Linked DNA regions of Homo sapiens: region 1 is linked to region 2. Evidence: promoter capture Hi-C in human tissues and cell types (Jung and others, 2019). All regions are on one chromosome and are shown on one strand. Each heading gives the region's core, a stretch centred on a gene start or on the middle of the fragment in contact. The rest is flanking DNA. Distances are from core to core; before and after follow the strand shown. Region 1 overlaps CNOT6 (CCR4-NOT transcription complex subunit 6). Region 2 holds the start of SCGB3A1 (secretoglobin family 3A member 1).

Region 1 (5,057 bases), core at 2,524-5,023, 40 kb after region 2:
CCCTACTGCTGCAGGCATTTACACTTAGAGGCTTTCCTGTACATTAAATCAGTATGAAAATTTATGGCCTGGTGCAGTGGCTCACGCCTGTAACCCCAGCAATTTGGGAGGCCAAGGAGGGCAAATGACTTGAGGTCAGGAGTTTGAGACCAGCCTAGCCAACAGGTGAAATCTCGTCTCTGCTAAAAACACAAAAAATTAGCTGGGCATGGTGGTGGGTACCTGTAATCTCAGCTACTCGGGAGGCTGAAGCAGAAGAATTGCTTCAACCAGGGAGAAGGAGGCTGCAGTGAGCCGATATCATGATGCCACTGCACTCTAGCCTGGGCGACAAGAGACTCTCTCTCAAAAAAAAAAAAAAGCAAATTTGTGACTGGTGACCCTAACTTCAAATAAAGTTTGTGAAAAGCCTTAGTGAGTACGAATTACAAATTACAGTTTGTAAAATATATAGTGTAAGATTAGGAAAACCTTGAATTGGAAAAACATACCTCCGCCATGAGGAAGACTGGAAGAACAAAGAGGGTCTCAACATTCTGTAATGTTCCATTTCTTTTGCATTAAAAAAATTATACACAAAAATGATAAAGTATTCACTGTTAATTCTGGCAGTCAGTATATGGACACTTTGCCACACAGTACTTTTCTGTTCTTCAAATTTAGAAACAGCTAGACTGGGAAATATAACAGAAAAGGGCATCTTCATCTTGCATTTCACTGGCCTTTATATTTAGAAGCCTTAGCTAGTTCAGCCCACACAGAAAAAAAATTACAAACCATTTACAATGTTGATATCTGTTGAATATGACTTTCCGTACATTTTAAAACATATATTTCTATTTATTTAAAAAAAACTGTTCTTTTATGATATATAAAATATTTACAGGACTAAAACCTTTTATATAACTGTATTTTTAAGAAACTAAGAGTGCAATTCCTTTTTTTTTTTTTTTTAAGACAGAGTCTCGCTCTGTCACCCAGGCTGGAGTGCAATGCCACAATGTCACCTCACTTCAACCTCTGCTTCCCAGGTTCAAGCAAGTCTCATGCCTCAGCCTCCCAAGTAGGTGGTACTACAGGTGGGAACCACCATGCCAAGCTGACTTTTGTATTTTTGGTAGAGATTGGGTTTTGCCATGTTGCTCATGCTGGTCTTGAACTCTTGGCCTCAAGATATCCACCCACCTCAGCCTCCCAAAGTTTTGTGATTACAGGTGTGAGCCACTGTGCCCGGCCTAAGGGTGCAAATCTTGACGACTTCATCTAGTGACTTTTTTGAAGAAGCAACTGTACAGTAGGCTAGACACACCTACCCAAGGCTGGTGAAGAACTGCTTAACATGATAAAAAATTTATAGGCATTGACATACTGTCAAAATATAACTTTCAATATTGTTGGCTTAAAAAATATTTATTTCCTAATAGTTCTTGCTGGATCAATTATGGCCCTATAATCACAAGTCCTCATAAATCAAGTTTTTTTAAATATGCTTAAATCTTGATCATCAGCAGGTTCAAATGGTCAACATTTTCGACTTCCTGTTTTCTGTACTATATGAGAGGCTCCATGTTTTTTGAGATTTGAATCTAAGAAAAACAGCTGTTTATAACATGATGAAATAAAGCATAGCCTCAGGGATGTATCACCAGAACACAGGGTTTATTAAAACAGAGGCTAGAAAAGAAGGGCTGGGTCCGGAGCAAAAAAAAAGAAAACAAAGACTAGTAGATAGTCTACAGCTGAACAGAGAAGATAAAACCATTGCGATATAGCTAAGAAACTGATGAAGTCTGGGGGAAAATGAGTCTTTAAAAGAATCCCCTAGCAGAAAGCTTCTTGGCTTCTTTAGATTCAAAGACATATACACAAACCATAAGAAGTACAAATATGGAAGTCATACCTTTCAGGCCTAAAGTCTGCAACTGAAACAGTTTTCCCAGCTCAAAAGGTAGAACTCGTAACAGGTTGTTATTTAAATGGAGCTCCCTGTTGATGTAAAAATTCCAGGAAGTCAGAAAAATATGTTAGCCTTTAACAGTTAAAATCAACAACATAGTTTCTAGGAACATAAGCACCTAAGAATGAAAAAATGTTACGTTATATTTCAATGTCTAGTACTGCGTTTCTTAAATAACATGTGGTTTAAAAAAAAAAACTGCCAGAGAATACAAGAAACAAATTACTAGAGAAAATGAAATAATGGGGGAAAAGGACAAAATGTAAGACCCAATTTTTAAAAAGTATTAGATTTAACAGACATATAAAATTCCTCAACTGCTGTATTAATCTCACTGCAGACTGGCAAGACAGTTTGCAAACTGGCACCAGGTCACAGACCACACTGAGTATCACTGGTCTAGTACACATGGGGTCTACTACACATTTAAGAAAGTGGAAATGATAAAGCAGCCTACCATGTGAATTCTTAAAAGAGAACTAAAATGATCATTTCGTTAACGACTCAAAAGAGCTCGTAACAGCTGCATAATTAAGCTTATGATTGCTATCAACTAAAGTTGCATTTAAAAAATAACAGCAGCTGTATTAACTGTTCATGATTATTCTTAATATGATTTGTTTTGCAGAGATAATCATGATATAAATATCAAAGGAACCTTCAAGGGTGAGCCGGGGGGACACGCGGGGAAAGAACCACCAGAGACCCAATACGGACACAGTGGCAATGTAACGCATGCAGTTTTATTTTTCAATTTTTTTTTTTTTTTGAGACGGAGTCTCGCTCCATTGCCCAGGCTGGAGTGCAGTGATGCGATCTCGGCTCACTGCAAGCTCCGCCTCCCGGGTTCACGCCATTCTCCTGCCTCAGCCTCCCGAGTAACTGGGACTACAGGTGCCTGCCACCACACCCAGCTAATTTTTTTTTTTGTATTTTTAGTAGAGACGGGGTTTCACCGTGTTAGCCAGGATGGTCTCGATCTCCAGACTTTGTGATCCGCCCGCCTCGGCCTCCCAAAGTGTGCTGGGATTATAGGCTTGAGCCATCGTGCCCAGCCTATTTGTCACTTTTTAAGTGTGCAAGAAATCTATTTCTATAATCTTTGGTTTTTGACATTTAAATGAATCTTGGTTACTGAGCAAGCCAGAAGGTCTGTGTGGCTGTAAACTCAACAAGAAGAGCAAGTTCTGATATCTGGCTCCTGTTTATTTCCAAATACAATATACAGAAAAAAGGAGGTCCCTCGGGCTGGGCACGGTGGCTCACGCCTGTAATCCCAGCACTTTGGGAGGCCGAGGCAGGCAGATCATTTGAGGTCAGGAGTTTGAGACTAGCCTGGCCAACATGGTGAAACCCTGTCTCTACTACAAATACAAAAATTAGCTGGGCATGGTGGCACACGCTTGTAATCCCAGCTACTTGAAAGGCTGAGGCAGGAAAATCACTTGAACCCGGAGGCAGAGGTTGCAGTGAGCCGAGATCACACTATTGCACTCCAGTCTGGGCGACAAGAGTAAAATTCCGTCTCCAAAAAAAAAAAAAGAAAAAGAAAAAGGAGGTCCTTCAAGTAAATTTGTTTCAGAGGACTAAAAACAGTCATAGAACAAACTCAATTAAACCTAAAAAAAAGTCAAAAGGCTGGAGTAGGAGCAATAGAGGCAAAGACCTTTCAAAAGGTCCTTATTCCTTTTTACTACATGGCTAATGGCAGAAGGCAGCAGGAAAGCCAGTGGAACCATGTCAAAAAGTCAGTTAACATGAAATAGTACAAAATATTCCATTGGGATTAACATAATACATGGAATTTAGCTTTATATTAACTTGGTTAGATCTTATCTACCTTATAAAACAGAAGTAAAATAATAATAATAATCATGGGCCAGCCACAGTGGCTCATGCCTGAAATCCCAATTCTCTGGGAGGCCAAGATGGGAGGATCTTTTGAGGCTAGGAGTTTAAGACCTGCCTGGGCAACATAGTGAGACCCTCATCTCTATCAAAATAAACATAGCAATGACCATTTCTTTTCTTTCTTATTTTCTAGAGGGGAGGAGGGTAGAGACAGGGTCTTGCTCTGTCACCCAGGCTGGAGTGCAGTGGCATGATCTCTGCTCACTGCAACCTCAACCTCCTGGGCTCAAGCCATCCCTCCACCTCAGCCTCCCAAGTAGCAGGGACTACAGGTGCATGCCACGAAGCCCAGCTAATTATCTGGGGATTTTTTTTTTTTTTTGTAGAGACCAGGTTCTCGCTATGTTGACCAGACTGGTCTGAAACACCTGGGCTCAAGCAATCAGCCCGCCTCAGCCACTCAAAGTACTGGGATTACAGACATGAACCACCACATGCAGTCTGCAATTACCATTTCTTAAAACACAGTATATGCCAGGCAAGGTACTAGTGTTTTTTTACCCATTATCTCAAACATCCCTTATCCTGGGTCAAGAAGGTTGTCCAAGATCACACAACTCATAAATGGCAAAGTTAAGATTCCAACCTGAACTTACACATGTGAATCCAAATGCTATATATTTCATGCTACAGGCCCCCAAATTTAATAATTATAGCTCCTTCAAGTCCAGGCTTTACTACTATCAAACATACAAGCCCTGGGATGGCAAAAAGGTTTCACCAACTGGCAATGGTTTCCTGGACCCTGTGTTAAGGATGGTATGGTGCCCTGTTTGTCATGAGGAAGTATGTGGGATAACATAAGCACCTTGCAGTCTACCCACTCTCTGTCCAAACTTTCTCATTCAAAAATAAAGTCTATTACACAAAATACAGTAATTAAAAAATTCAGCCAATGATCTACTTAATTTATTATTAGCTGACATTCAATTTTCCCAAAAACAAAACTATAAAGTTATAAAGGATATAGTTATGTTTCCTTTTATTCAAATACCATTAAATGAACAGTTTTGTTTCCTAACACAACAAATGTTTTTTTGTTTTTGTTTTTTTTGAGATGGACTCTCGCTCTGTCACCCAGGCTGGAGTGCAGCGGTGTGATCTCGGCTCACTGCCACTCCACCTCCCGGGTTCACACTGTTCTCCTGCCTCAGCCTCCCGAGTAGCTGGGACTACAGGTGCCCGCCAC
Region 2 (5,426 bases), core at 2,780-5,279:
ATGGCAGGCCCCAGGTCCGTCCACACCCCAGCTCCTGGAACCTTGGAATGTTAGGCTCAGCAGGCACGGTCTCGGCAGCCCGACTGGGGGCGTCATTGTGAGATGAGGGGACTGTCCTGGGTTATCTAGGTGAGCCCTAAATGCAACAACACACACACTCATAAGATGGCGGCAGAATTTTCACACTCACACACACCCACACTCACACACACATTCACACACACTTGCACACAATTCAAACACATGCATATCCACACACTCCCTCCCACACACTCCCTCCCACACTCTCCCTCCCACACAGACTGACTCACGCTTATCCACACACACACTTGTACACACATTCACACTCAAACACACCCACAAGCTCACACCCACTCACTCTCCTTCACATGCACATTCTCATTCACTGTCCATCTTACACACTTGCATGCATATTCACTCTCACCCCTCCACACACACACCCCCACACATCCCCACACCCACACACACCCACACATGAACCCTCACACACACCCACATACACACCCACACATACACACCCTCACACACACCCCACACACACTCACACACCCACACATACCCTCACACACCCTCACACACACCCATACCCTCTCACTCCCACACACCCACACACGAACCCTCACACACCCACACACACCCCCACACACACCCACACACCCACACACACCCACACACCGACAAACCCTCACACACACACCCCACGCACCCTCACACACACACCCACACACACAGAAGAGGAGGAGGCCATGTGACCAGGAGGCAGAGACTGGAGTGATGCAGTCACCAGCCAAGGGGCCCTGGCAGCCCCCATAAGCAGGGAGAGGCCAGGAGTGGATAAGCTCCTGGGAAGGCCCAGCCTCTGGAGGAGGAGCGGCCCCCGACGCCTCGCCTTCACCCCCGTGACACTGCACTTCTGGGCTCCAGAACTGCGAGCGGAGTAAATGTGTTGTTTTCAGCCACCAGGTATGTGGTGACTTGTCACAGCAGCCTCAGGAAATGAATACAGAGGCAGCCGCTGACCCAGCTGTGCAGGTCTCGGCACAGGCCAGACCCTCGGCCTGCCTGATCCCCAACTACCGCAGAGGCTTCGCCAGCCGTGGCCCCCAGAGCCAGTGTGGGGTGAGGGGCTGGGCCAGCCTGAGGTGAGTCCTGGCTTGCCTTGACCATGGCAGCTCGGGAGAGGAGAGCACATCCTTTGGCCCTGTCAGTGGTGAAACGGAGACACCGTGACACACTTCTCCGGGGAGCCAGGGGATGTATTTTTGGAATCCGAAATCTTGGGGCACATGGGAATGAGGGCCTGTCACCACCCTGCAGGCTTGTGGGAAATGGGAACAGATCCACCCAAGGCACTATGAGCCGGAAGGTGGAGGGAGGTTATTTTGAAGACAAAGGATCCCTGGAGGCAGGTGCAAGGGGCCGCTGGAGTGGCCAGGACCCCAAGCGCTGCTGGGGACCCACAGATGACGGCCTCCCCCTCCTCCTGGCCTCGGCAGCATCGGTCTTTCCCGCGGTCAGTGTTCTCTGGTCCCCAGGCAGCATGGGGAAAGGTGGCCCCAAAGTCAGCTCCCAAGATGCGCCCACTGGGATTGCTTGGGCCAAGGCTGCCAGATCCTGCTCAGGAGAAGAACAAGCATCATGAGGTTGTGGACACACTGGGATCCTTGTGCATTGTTGCTGGGAAGGCAGCGTGGTGCCGCTGCTATGGGAGAGATGGCAGATCCTCACAAATGACACAGGCAAGTTCCACAGGCTCCAGCCATTCTACCTCTGAGCAGCCACCCAAAACAGCCAACAGCAGGGTCCCAAAGAGGCATTTGCACAGCCGTGTTCACGGCCGCATTACTCACAGCAGTGAAAACATGCAAGCGCCCACATGTCCACCCACGGGTGAAGTGAATGGGTGAAGAAAACGTGGCACAGCCATGCAATGGAGCAGTATCCTACCCTAAGAAGGAAGGAAACTCTGAAGGTCATGAATGAACCTGGAGGATATCATGCTAAGTGAAATACGCCAGACACAAAAGACAAACACTGCCCGATTCCACTCATATGAGGTGCCGGGAGTGGCCAGATTCAGAGACAGAAAGTGGAATGGTGGTGCCAAGGGCTTGGGGAGGGGAGTGGGGAGTTGTTTAATAGGCTCAGAGTTTCAGTTTTATAAGAGGAAAAGAGTTCTGGAAATGGATTGTGGTGATGTTTGCACAACATTAGAATATACTTAATGCTAATGGAGTGTGCCCTTAAGATGGTGAAGCTGGGCTGTGCGGGGTGGCTCACACGTGTCATCACAGCACCTTGGGAGTCTGAGGCGGGAGGATTGCTTCAGGCCAGGATTTTGAGACCAGCTTGGTCAATGTAGCGAGACCCCATCTCTAGAAAAAATAAAAATAAATCAAGCCAGGCGTGGTGGCTCACACCTGTAATCCCAGCACTTTGGGAGGCTGAGGCAAGAGTATCACTTGAGGCTAAGAGTTCAAGACCAGTCTGGGCAACACAGTGAGACTTTGTCTCTACAAAAAATAAACAAAATTAGCTGGACATAGTGGTGCACACCTATAGCCCCACCTGCTTGGGAGGCTGAGGTGGGAGAATTGCTTGAGCCTGGGAGGTGGAGGCTGCAGTGAACCAAGATCACCTCACTACACTCCAGCCTGGGCGACAGAGTGAGACTGTCTCAAAAAACAAACAAACAAAAAACAAAATCAAAATCCGCTGAGTGTGGTGGCTCACACCTCTAGTCCCAGCTACTTGGGAGTCTGAGGTGGGAGGATTGCTTGAGCTCAGGAGTTCGAGACCAGCCTGGGCAACACGGCAAGACAGTGTCTTTACCACCACCAAAAAAGTAATTAACTTCAAACTGTTTTTAAAAAAGAAAACGTATTTCCCATTAAAATTACTTCCATGATGACCAACAAAACACAACCAAACTCCAGATTTATAATGCAAAAATCCCCCAAACAAAATAGTCAAGGAAAAGTGTAAGTGAACAGAAACAGTGTGAATGCGTGTGCCTGGCCACAACAGTTGGCAAAGGCACAAGTGTCTGCAGGTGCGGAGGAGGCCGCAGTAGCTCGGGGTGGCTGAGGGCTAAGACGTGCTGTCAGCCATAGGGAAGGAATTCCAGGACACTGCCTGAAGAGTCAGGTCCTCCCACCCGGGAGCCTGTTTCCCACGCGTGCCAGCTACACTTTACAAAAGAAAAGAGAGACTTTGCACCAACCTAGCTGAGAGCAGCCACGCAGCAAAACGTGAGTCACTCAGTGCTCAATGCCTGGGGTCAAAAAATAGAGGAAAGAAGAAGGACTAAAAGCAAATTAGTTTATGTATCATTTGCAAAAGTTTTCAAAATGTGCTTTGCTCTCCATCTGTCATACTTCTGCAGGTGACAGACGAGTGAGGACATTTAGAGAAACTCAGGAACAAACCAGGCCCATCCACTGGCGTCGAGGCTAGTTTCGAAGACAGAAAAACGCCCCACTTCTGTTTGCACTGTGGCTGCCTGTGGCCCGGCCGGGGAGGCGGCCGGGAGTGAGGCCTGATCGTCCCTGGCGCCTCCACCTCCCCAGGCGCAGAAGGCGCCCACGAGGACCCCCAGTGCCCGACGTTGCCACGGTCTGGGATCAGAGGCAGGGACCAGGGAGCCAGGAACTGCGCCGCCCCCGCCCCTGCCCTGGCGCGAGGGAAGCTCCCCTCACCCGGGCCCAGCCCTGCAGGGGGGCGCGTGGGGTCAGACCGCAAAGCGAAGGTGCGGGCCGGGGTGGGCCTCGCGGAGACAAAGGCCGGGCCTGCCTGCTCTCAGAGGGCCCCAGCGCCTGCCAAGAGGAAGTCCTCGAGGCCCGGGCAGGGAAGGGGGCACGGGCTTCCCAGGGCCCGCCGGCCGCAGCAGGAAGTTGGCCAGGGCACGGCCGTGAGCGGAGCGGGCAGGGCTTTCTCAGGAGCGCGGGCGAGGCCGGCGCTGGAGGGGCGAGGACCGGGTATAAGAAGCCTCGTGGCCTTGCCCGGGCAGCCGCAGGTTCCCCGCGCGCCCCGAGCCCCCGCGCCATGAAGCTCGCCGCCCTCCTGGGGCTCTGCGTGGCCCTGTCCTGCAGCTCCGGTGAGCGCCCCGGGCTCCTGGCGCGCACGGTGGGGCCTGAGGCCTCGGCGCCCGCTGCGCCCCCGCCGCTGCCTGCGCCGATCGTGGATCCCAGGTCCTTCCAGCCTCGCCCGGCGCCCAGAGGGCTCCGCCACCCCGGGGCCCCGCGCCTGCAGCCCGCGGCCTCCCCCTCTCAGGGCTGTCTCCAGCCTCGTGCCGGGATGGAGGCCGCCCCTGGCCTGGGGACACCCGTCTGCCCCCCGTCTGGAGACCGGCTCCTCATCCTGCAAGGCGCAGCGCGAGTGTCCCCTCCCTTGGGGGCCTGTCCCGGACCCTGCACAGAGTTCACCGGTCCTTCCGCCACCCTCAGGCCACTCCGGTGACCCTGCAGCGTCTCCTGGCGGGGCCGCCTCCCCAGACCCGCCTGTGTCCCGGGGGCTCGCACCTGGCAGGCCTCGGCGCAGGAGGGAGGGGCGGTCGGGGAGCCGGGCAGGGCGCGACGGTTCCTGGGCGCCTCCCGCGGGGGCGCGTCCTGGACCTGCCTTCTGGGGACCCCGGCGCGCAGGCGGTGACCCCTCCCTGTTCGCTTGCAGCTGCTGCTTTCTTAGTGGGCTCGGCCAAGCCTGTGGCCCAGCCTGTCGCTGCGCTGGAGTCGGCGGCGGAGGCCGGGGCCGGGACCCTGGCCAACCCCCTCGGCACCCTCAACCCGCTGAAGCTCCTGCTGAGCAGCCTGGGCATCCCCGTGAACCACCTCATAGAGGGCTCCCAGAAGTGTGTGGCTGAGCTGGGTCCCCAGGCCGTGGGGGCCGTGAAGGCCCTGAAGGCCCTGCTGGTAAAGTGGGCACCCCGGGTGCCCTTCCTGCGCGGGCATCCCTTCCCGGCCAGCCTCAAAACTGCACCAGAGGTGTCCCGGCCCTACGTCAGGGCTGTTTCCCGTCCTGCCCCTCCAAGCCCTGTCCCTGGGAGAAGCCCGGGTCTCCGGGTGGGAACTGGGTGGGGCGCATCCGAGCTGCAGGGGCGGGGAAGGCGGAGATGGCCCCGCGCGGGTGCGCGTCCCCCGGAGACGCCAGCGGAACCGCCCCGCTCCCGCTCCCCACAGAGCCGGCCGCTGCCGCGCCCCCGCCTGAGTTCTTGGTGGCAGGGCTGGGGGCACTCAAGCTCGGCTTCTGCTTTCCAGGGGGCCCTGACAGTGTTTGGCTGAGCCGAGACTGGAGCATCTACACCTGAGGACAAGACGCTGCCCACCCGCGAGGGCTGAAAACCCCGCCGCGGGGAGGACCGTCCATCCCCTTCCCCCGGCCCCTCTCAATAAACGTGGTTAAGAGCAGCT

The links. Contacts are between HindIII fragments. The study calls those that stand out against the background at their distance.
Region 1: a fragment that was not itself captured here is called in contact with the fragment with the promoter of SCGB3A1 in region 2 in 1 of the 25 tissues and cell types used here (thymus).

The regions. Positions count from the first base shown.
Region 1 is chr5:180,550,315-180,555,371 of GRCh38, reverse strand. CNOT6 (CCR4-NOT transcription complex subunit 6) reads right to left here. Exons shown (of 12, transcript NM_001370472.1): 4 at 1,901-1,986. Among named protein-coding and RNA genes, the nearest start is that of SCGB3A1, 39 kb to the left of the region's middle. The HindIII fragment of the contact is 3,220 bases long and covers 2,164-5,057 here.
Region 2 is chr5:180,590,102-180,595,527 of GRCh38, reverse strand. It overlaps SCGB3A1 (secretoglobin family 3A member 1), which reads left to right and starts at 4,029. Exons shown (of 3, transcript NM_052863.3): 1 at 4,029-4,117; 2 at 4,690-4,928; 3 at 5,274-5,423. The coding sequence starts at 4,066. The coding sequence ends at 5,297. LOC124901154 (a long non-coding RNA gene) reads right to left here and starts at 2,358. Exons shown (of 2, transcript XR_007059088.1): 1 at 2,319-2,358; 2 at 1,260-1,635. RefSeq lists enhancers at 3,828-4,497, 4,498-5,167, 5,168-5,426. The HindIII fragment of the contact is 36,128 bases long and covers 1-5,426 here.